Regions from separate parts of the Homo sapiens genome. Here region 1 is linked to region 2. Evidence: promoter capture Hi-C in human tissues and cell types (Jung and others, 2019). All regions are on one chromosome and are shown on one strand. Each heading gives the region's core, a stretch centred on a gene start or on the middle of the fragment in contact. The rest is flanking DNA. Distances are from core to core; before and after follow the strand shown. Region 1 overlaps EHBP1 (EH domain binding protein 1). Region 2 holds the start of B3GNT2 (UDP-GlcNAc:betaGal beta-1,3-N-acetylglucosaminyltransferase 2).

Region 1 (4,605 bases), core at 987-3,486, 550 kb before region 2:
AATCATTAAAAAGTCAGGAAACAGGTGCTGGAGAGGATGTGGAGAAATAGGAACACTTTTACACTGTTGGTAGGACTGTAAACTAGTTCAACCATTGTGGAAGTCAGTGTGGCGATTCCTCAAGGATCTAGAACTAGAAATACCATTTGACCCAGCCATCCCATTACTGGGTATATACCCAAAGCATTATAAATCATGCTGCTATAAAGACACATGCACATGTATGTTTACTGCAGCACTATTCACAATAGCAAAGACTTGGAACCAACCCAAATGTCCATTAATGATAGACTGGATTAAGAAAATGTGGCACATAGACACCATGGAATACTATGCGGCCATAAAAAAGGATGAGTTCATGTCCTTTGAAGGGACATGGATGAAGCTGGAAACCATCACTCTCAGCAAACTATCTTAAGGACAAAAAACCAAACACTGCATGTTCTCACTCATAAGTGGGAATTGAACAATGAGAACACTTGGACACAGGAAGGGGAACATCACACACAGGGGGCCTGTTGTGGGGTGGGGGGATGGGGAAGGGATAGCATTAGGAGATATACCTAATATAAATGACGAGTTAATGGGTGCAGCACACCAACATGGCACATGTATACATATGTAACAAACCTGCACGTTGTGCACATGTACCCTAGAACTTAAAAGTATAATAAAATAAAAAAGAAAAAAGTGATTAAAACAGTCTGTATCTTTACAGAAGTGGTAATTATACAAGTATACATATTGATCAAATCTTACTGAATTATAAAATTAAGATCTGTGTATTACACATATGTAAGTTTTAGCTCAATAAAAATAAAAGACTTGAAAAGAGGCCCTAAATAAAAAATTTTAAATACAGAAAATTGTAGGATTTCAATTAAAACTAATAAAGTTTTCTTTATACAGGTCTACTTGTAGAAAAACCAACATTCAATAAACATTCTTGTGGTCATTGTATACTAATAAAAAATATAGTCACATTTATTTTAGAACAGAATTTTGTTTTTAGAGACAGTCTCACTCTGTCACCCAGGCTGGAGGGCAGTGGCACAATCTTAGCTCAATAAAGCTTCAAACTCCTGGGCTCAAGCAATCCTCTCATCTCAACCTCTTCAGTAGCTGGGACTACAGGTGCATCACCACACTTGGCTAATTTTGTTTTTGTTTTTGTTTTTGTAGATATGGGGTCTCACTATGTTTCCCAGGCTGGTCTTAAATTCCTAGCCTCAAGCGATCCTCCTGCCTTGGCCTCCCAAAGTGCCAGGATTACAGGCGTAAGGATAGAATCTGGCCAGGATAGAATTTTTTAAATATCTGTAGAACTGTTATTGAATATTATAAAATTCGGTTCCACTCCCCACAAACAAAATTATCAGTACCAAAAGAAATTAAAATCTTTGAAAAATCCAACTCCTCTTCTGCACCCCAGCAACAGACTCAGATAACTCGTAACTTCTTAAGTGTGCCCTAACTTCGTCATCTTGTAATCTAAATAAATTAATCTTAGGTACAATTTTGTAAGTGGTACCTGTTTAATCATTAATTCTTAACACTGTAGTACAGAGAAGTAACTTAACTATTATGTTATTCAAGGCTACTGTCTCAGTCCATTTGTGTTGGTGTAACAACATGCCGCAGACTGAGTAATAAATAAAGAGCAGAAATCTATTTTCTCACAGTTCTAAGGGCTAGAAGTTCAAGATCAAGGCATCGGCATCTGGTGAGGGCCTTCTTAGTGCATCCTCATGTGGCAGAAGGCAGAGGGCAAAAAGGAAACAAACTCCCTCTATCAAGTCCTTTTATAAGGATGCCTAATTGAATTCACAAGGGAGAAGTCCTTACCCTAATCACTTCTTAAAGGCCCCCCACCTCCTTATATTAGGTTGGTGCAAAAGTAACTGCAGTTTTTGCTATTACTTTTAAGGCAAAACCGCAATTACTTTTGCACCAACCTATTCTATTACATTGGCAACACCTGATTTTTTTCAAACCATAGTAATTACCAAATCCAAGACCAAAACTCAGGTATCTGGCTCCCGTTTTGAGAACAAGCAGTTAAAAGATTATAGCATCTGATCAATCCATTTTCAGTAGACAATCAAGAAAAAAAAACAAAACATCAAGTAATATTTTAAAATATTCTACACTGGAACCAGAGCAGTTTGCTAATTTGTATTCAACAATTAGGTAAGAAATTTAGAAAATACACTAACCTTAGAAGACTTCCTTCGGCTTCTTCTGGTCCAAACTACCACCAGTTTATCTGGTTGCCTGCCAAACAAAAAAAAAGTTAAACATAATTTATCTTAAATAAATAAAGTTTCATTTTAGCGCCTTTAAAAGGGCAAAAATGTCATCTGCTTTAGGCTACATAAAGCAGCTACTGTTACAATAAAGCTCTATCAAATATAGTAGATGTTAACTACAGATGTGACCTAATTTGCATAACTAATATTTCCTCCATGTCCTTTTCCAACAATACTTTAGCAAGTTAAATCACAGGGACAAACCAAGTAAAATAAAATATTTAGAACTGGTCTATTTTAAAAAGAAAAAAAGCACACACATATCTTCTCCATAAATTAACACCATACTTCTAACACATTATTCCCTTTAATGTGAAGTAAACAAGCATAAAAAGGGCACTTGCAAAATAATTTAAATCTATGAATTCACTACTTTTGCATCTCTGTATCTCATGAACAATGCTTGTGGTTTTTAAAACATTATTATAGCCAATCATCTCAATCTTCATTAAAAACAATACGGTACTGAAAAAATAGGCAAGGTATATACTATTATCCCTATTTTAGTTAAGCTTAAAAGACTATTAAGTTAAATAATCAAAAGCTCTGGCAGAACCAAGACTGAAATACAGGTCTTCTAATCTCAGATTTCTCTTCTCTATCTTCCACTAATATAAAGTCAAACAAAAATAATACATTTTCAGGTAAAATTAGGTTCGTGCAAAAGTAACTGTGGTTTTTCCCATTCCTTTTAACGACTAAAACCGCAATTACTTCTGCATCAACCTAATATAACTAAGTTCTCTTTTGTTCTTATGAAAAACATCAAGATTATGATTATCACTTATTTTACTTAAATTTTCATTTTAAAAAATCTTAGATAAAAGCTTCTTAACCAAGAAATGAAAGTCATACTCATCTTGTTGACCTTCACCACTTTCTATGTCCTGTTCATTTTACACTGGAATCCCGTGCTTTCAGCAGATAACCTTTCCTCCTATTTCATTTAATTAAATACATATATATATATACACACACATAAGAGGCCTCCAGCCTTAAACTCCTCACTCAGCGATCCACCTACAAACCTATACTGCTATCTAGAGAGAGTTATACCAATGGAAAAACAAACAACCGTTAAAAGAAAAACAAAAAAAACACCTTGTTCAACACAGAAACCTGCACTAGGACAATTCCAGTGAGTAAGAATGGAGTGCGGTATAACAACATGATAGATGGGGTTGGGAAGAAGGTATGATCTATGATGGCAAGTTAACAAGAGGAGAACAGTAGCCAACAAATGTAAGCTACCTCATTTGAAAACATTGATGGCTTGCCAGAACATTTTACCTAGATTACTGCACTAACCTCTTCACTTATGCTCTCATCTCCACAGCTCCAGCACAATTTCAACTCTGAAATTATATTTCGACAGTACTTTTATAGAAATGCTATCTTACAGTTTTTCCTTGTTTATCATCCTATGCTGGGCTCTTAAATTGAAGGTACCACCAACTGGCCCTTGCAGGTTGAATTTTACAGGTTTACTTGACTGAAAGAGTATTCTATTTTATTTTAAACTTAAACTCTTTTAAAAAGTTCTTATTTAAATGCCTTTAAACAAGGCCTATGCTGTCCAGATTAGGAGAGCCTCCAACACTACCAACTGCTTCACACCTGACCAGCTTCACTCCTTAAAATGATCTATCTAGACCCTATGTGCATTTGGCCCTGTGACACCCTTGTTTCTCAACACGGCTTGTAAGGCATTTCACTCACCACTTGACTCTGATCTATCTCTCTAGCTGTATAACCTGCAAATATCTCATAGGCATCTTGCTCTATAACCAACCCCTGAACACATATTTCTTCATTTCTTCACATCTTTGCAATGTTACAATGTTTAAAAAAACACACACACAAAAAAACTTCCTCTTCCATTTTTCTACCTAGTAAACCCCTAATTTATCACTTTCTCTGTGTAACCCTGACCATTTCTCATGTCATCTCCTGCCCCATCCCCTCCCACCCATTCCATATTCTAAGCCTCAGAGTTAATTACACCTGTGTTCCCAATAACAACCTAGACACACCTATTTTCTATTTTAATACTCTATACACCTTGCATTGTAAGTATTTATTATTTCTGTCTCTCACACTAGACTGCACTATTTTATCAACCACGTCTTATTTATCTTTGTAATCCTACCAACTAATAATCTAGTACAAGGTTGAGGTTCAATGAATATGCGGCACTGAATAAACCTTAAGTTTCATCCAGGAACTCCCAATTGGTTAATTATAATTGATGAGGTCCAACTGAAGCCAGTAGCTATATAATACATCATCTCTGCAA
Region 2 (4,591 bases), core at 523-3,022:
AACCAGGAGCAGGAGTTAGGACAATGGGAAGTGACCGCCCTGCCCTGCCCTGCCGGTCCTCCCTCCGGGTCAGCTGTCAGATCCGCATGGGTGCGACTATAAGCCGGCACCGGAGCCCCGGGACTGGCTCGGCCAGGGTCCCCGCCTTTTCACTCCCAGTCCCGGCCCTGTCGGCCACCTCGTTTACCACCTCCAGAGGCACAAATAATTATACCGGAAGAATTTGTTTTAACAAGTAGAATTCTATATTCACCAACTGGCTTCGCTATCGGATATTACGGTAGGGTTCCAACAAGAGAAGGGCAAAAGAATATAGTTTAATTGTTCTAAACAATCTTTCTGAGAAGTTGGGGTGGCTGAGGCGGCCACGGGGATACAGCTCAGGCACCTGTGAGCTAAGCCCACTCTACAAACTAACCACCCCTACGTTTTGGGCAGAAGAGCGCCGCCTCGCCAACCCAGGTTATAAATGTACATATTTTTAAAGATGAGCTTTGACGCTGTGACACTTGTGGGGAGTCTCCCGACGGCTCCTCTACTTGATGGGGGTACAGGGAGTTCTGCGGCTCCCCAGCCCCGAGTTTCAAATACCGTGGCCTGGAAATTAACCGGGTGACTCGGTTTATTGCCTCCAGAAGGGTCCGCCTGCCGTGCTGGAGTAGCCGCCAGTCCCGCGCCCGCAGCCCCGGCAGGGCCCCCCACGCCCACCTTCCCACGAGGGGTGTCTCGTAGAGTCCGGCTTCAGGCGCTCCCTGGCCTGGCAGCACCCACCCCACCCCGCCCCACCCCACCCCCACGACTCGGGCTAGCAGCCTGGTTAATCATTCAACGCAAACAGTGTGGAATATTTTTTTTAAAAGGTCAAAGCGAAAGGTTTTCCCTAAGTTTGGCAGAAACCAGTTTTGGGGGAGCCGGAGACAGAAGTGGCAGAGGTTGGGGGTGGGGGGTGGGGAGCGGCTGCCGGCGGCTCTTTGGCTCACAAAACACCTGATCTCCCCATGCGGCACGGGAGGCCGGCGCAGTGCGAGGGTGGGGTGCGGGGGTGCGAGCGAGGAATCACGCGCGCCCCCCTCCCCGAAATGCCCGCGCGCCCCGGATGAGGAGGCCCGGCCCCAGATGCCCCTTGCCAAAGCCCGCATCGCCCCGGCGCCGGATCCCCCGGAAGTTGGGGTGCAGCGAGGAGGGGGAAGGTCCCCGGGCTCCAGGGCGAGGTGGGCACGGAATGGGTTGGGAGGTTCCAAAGCCCCGCAGCGGGCGGTGTCCCTCTCCTCTCCCTCTGGGCTGAGGTTGGGTGGCTGGGACGGCGGGAAGGTAAGGGAGGCTTAAATGCGGCAGGAGCCACCTAGGGACGGCTTCCTCCACCGGGGCGCGGGTACGAAGCCGGAACCGGCGAGGAACCGGGCGGGGGTAGCAGGGTGTCCGGAAGGTGGGGCCGGGAAGCAGGGAGGCGGAAGGGGACTGGTAGAGGGGCCTGGCGGTGAGAGGGCAGCGGGGAGGGAGCCGGCGGGGGTGCTCGGCGCCCGGGCCCTACCTTGTCCGGGAGCAGCTCCAGCTCGGCGGGGCGGGGGCAAGGGCGGGAGATCGCGGCCACATCCACGTCCCGGCCGCTCCGCGCGGCTCAGCCCGGCGACCGCCGCAGCTCACGCTCCATGCGCGGCGCCCCGGACGGGCGGCCCGGCGGTGTCGGCGGCAGGGACTGCTCCGGCTTGGCTCTGCTAGCCTCCGGCACTTGTTGCCGCTGCTGCCGCTGCCGCTGCGCCTCACTCCAGGCTCCGGTTCCAGGCGCAGCAGCCGCCGCGGGCGCCCGGCCCCGCCCCTCCCCTGCCCGCCCGCCAATGGGGCCCGGCCCCGCCCCTCACGTCACCGCCCGACGGCCCCGCCCCGCGCCCCAAGTTTTGGGAGGGTTCCGCTCTCCCCACCCGGTACCAGGACCCACCCGGGCCCGCGCTCCCTGCGGCTTCCAGGGACCCTCCAGCCCCCACGCACCCTCCTGCAAAGCCGAGGGTTAAGCTGGGGAAAGGGGGCCTCTAGGAAGGCGACCCCCCTGGAAATGCCTGGCAGCTCCAAAAACACTAATGAAACTCAGCTCCAGCCTCCGCCCCTCCAGTTGTGGGTGGCCCCTCTTGCGGTTCGTCTGAGGCTAGGGGACTAGGCGCATCGCCTAGCGAGACTCCAGTGGCCTTTTCTGTCCAGTTTGTAACCGGAACTAGACCGACCCCGGCCGCCCCCTCCAGTGCTGGGGCGGGTGAGGAATGGCCCCGCCGGGGAGGCGGGGGAGGGAGGCCTGGGCCACCCTGGGGTCTGACCTTTGCTCCACCTCTTAGGTGCTCACGACCCAGAGTGGTGCCCTGCTTGGTACTGCCACTGGATCCTCTGGCTTATGAAGCCGTCCAGGACAGGAAGGGTGGGGGGTGGTCCTTAGTTCTCTTCGTGGGGTCATGCAGAGTGGTTTCCTCGAGGTCCCACGCCCGTCTCAGGAAGCCAGAAACGCAAGATGCCGGGCGCTCGGCCCGAACCCGTGCCGCGGCCCAAGGGGCAAGGCGGATACCGAGGCAAGGCCTAAAGGGCCGGACTCTGACCGCACCCTCCGGACACTGCAGGGCTCCGCCGGCCAGAGGCGGCCTTGGCGCCAACCACACCTAGCAGCGGGGTCCCCGGGCCCACCGATGCGCCCTCCTAGCCCCGCGCTCCTTCGAGGGGTTCCAAGGTGACTCAGAGACGCAGCTGACACAATTCTGAGGCCCCCAGGTAAGCCTGGCGATACCGGATGGAGAAGTTACCTGGTCTTGAAAGGCCCAGTCCAGCCAGCGAGACCCGCGTGCGCTCCGCGGGGAGGCAAGCCTAACCAGGGGCTCACCTGGAAGCGTCCCCGCCCCCTGGTCCTTATCTCTGAATCGAAACCGAACCTGGACCCATCTAGATAATTGGACTGAGCAATTAAGGACGCTTCGCTCCTAACTGTTAGCATTTTTTCCTAAGGCTCTCGGAGGCGGAATCAGCTGGAAAGGAACATTGCTAAGTAGGAATTTCAGGCACCTGTGAACTGAGCCCACTCAATAATCGGCCCTTTCCCTTAACCAAACTCAGCAAAGGAAGAAAGACCAAGTTGCTGCGGATGCACAGAGCCACGTGGGTGCGGGTCCTCTAGAAACAGGAATTCAGAGTCAGTAGATATGGAAATGTTATGGTTTGCAGTCTTCGGACCATGCTGCTTTCATGCTGTTCACATGATTCTCCTCGGACTGCGAGGTAAAGTCCAAGAAACAAGTCGAATGTTTGTATTTTCATAGAAAAAACATCTGTAAGGGTGCACACCGACTGTTAACCACGGTTACGCGGGGAGGGGAAACAAGGGAGTTACATTTTTTTACTCCCTTGACTTTGGATTTTGTATTTTTCCAGTTGTATTTACTTTCATAATTTAGAAAGCTAATAAAACATGTTTAAAGAAACAGAAGCTAGAAATTCTCTAAGAACTCTAGGAAGTAGAGGCCGGGCGCGGTGGCTCACGCCTGTAATCCCAGCACTTTGGGAGGCCGAGGCGGGTGGATCACAAGGTCAGGAGTTCGAGACCTGTCTGGCCAACATGGTGAAACCCTGTTTCTACTAAAAATACAAAAATTAATGGTGACATGTACCTGTAATCCCAGCCACTTGGGAGGCTGAGGCAGGACAATCGCCGAACTCAGGGAGGCGGAGGTTGCAGTAAGCCGAAATCGTGCCACTGTACTCCAGCCTGGGTGACAGAGTGAGACTCTGTCTCAAAAAAAAAAAAAGAACTCTAGGGAGTATAAATTAATAAATGAAGTCTATGTCTTCATTCTGTATCAAAATAATATTGAGTCCATGTTCCTGGGTTTAAATAAAGATATCTCTAGGCTGCTGTCTGATATTTAAATGCAGTGTTGAGACAAAGCGGACATCTAAGGAAGATTTTCTGTGCCATCAGATTGGTATATTGTTTCCATGCATATGTGTCTTCCCTTTAAATGCACTCCCTGTAGCCACAGACATGCTTGCAAGAACGGCCAGCCAAGGAGTTTATAGTAAAGGAGCTGCTACAATGTCAGCTGGCAACCAACTAGGAAATTAAGCTTGTGTCCCTCGCTGCCCAAGGCTGCCCAGGCCATGAAATTTAAAAATAAGGGTATTCTTAGGCCAGGCACGGTGGCTCATGCCTGTAATCCCAGTACCTTGGGAGGCCAAGGTGGGCGGATCACTTGAGGTCAGGAGTTCAAGACCACCCTGGCCAACATGGTAAAACCCCGTCTCTACAAAAAATACAAAAAAATTAGCCAGGTGTGGTGGTGGACACCTGTAGTCCCAGCTACTTGGCAGGCTGAGGCAGGAGAATTGCTTGAACTCGGGAGGTGGAGGTTGCACTGAGCCGAGATCGTGCCACTGCACTCCAGCCTGGGCGACAGAGCAAGACTCCGTCTCAAATAAATAAGGGCATTTTCTCCATGGTGGCTTTAACACAGTTGGGAGTATATCTACAATAGTTACCTTGTGTCTTTTGGGGAGTAACTCAATGCTAGATTCCACATCGCTTGGCTATAGTCCCTACTGTTAGGTTGGGACCCAGGTCCAT

What was found. Contacts are between HindIII fragments. The study calls those that stand out against the background at their distance.
Region 1: a contact is called between a fragment that was not itself captured here and the fragment with the promoter of B3GNT2 in region 2, in 1 of the 25 tissues and cell types used here (bladder).

Annotation. Positions count from the first base shown.
Region 1 is chr2:62,745,064-62,749,668 of GRCh38, reverse strand. EHBP1 (EH domain binding protein 1) reads right to left here. Exons shown (of 23, transcript NM_001142616.3): 3 at 2,217-2,274. Among named protein-coding and RNA genes, the nearest start is that of EHBP1, 42 kb to the right of the region's middle. The HindIII fragment of the contact is 5,086 bases long and covers 1-4,605 here.
Region 2 is chr2:62,193,296-62,197,886 of GRCh38, reverse strand. B3GNT2 (UDP-GlcNAc:betaGal beta-1,3-N-acetylglucosaminyltransferase 2) reads right to left here and starts at 1,772. Exons shown (of 2, transcript NM_006577.6): 1 at 1,532-1,772. LOC124906013 (a long non-coding RNA gene) reads left to right here and starts at 1,874. Exons shown (of 2, transcript XR_007086336.1): 1 at 1,874-2,748; 2 at 2,980-3,898. RefSeq lists enhancers at 377-486, 1,467-2,073, 2,680-3,287 and silencers at 897-1,246, 1,427-1,866, 2,157-2,386. The HindIII fragment of the contact is 18,752 bases long and covers 1-4,591 here.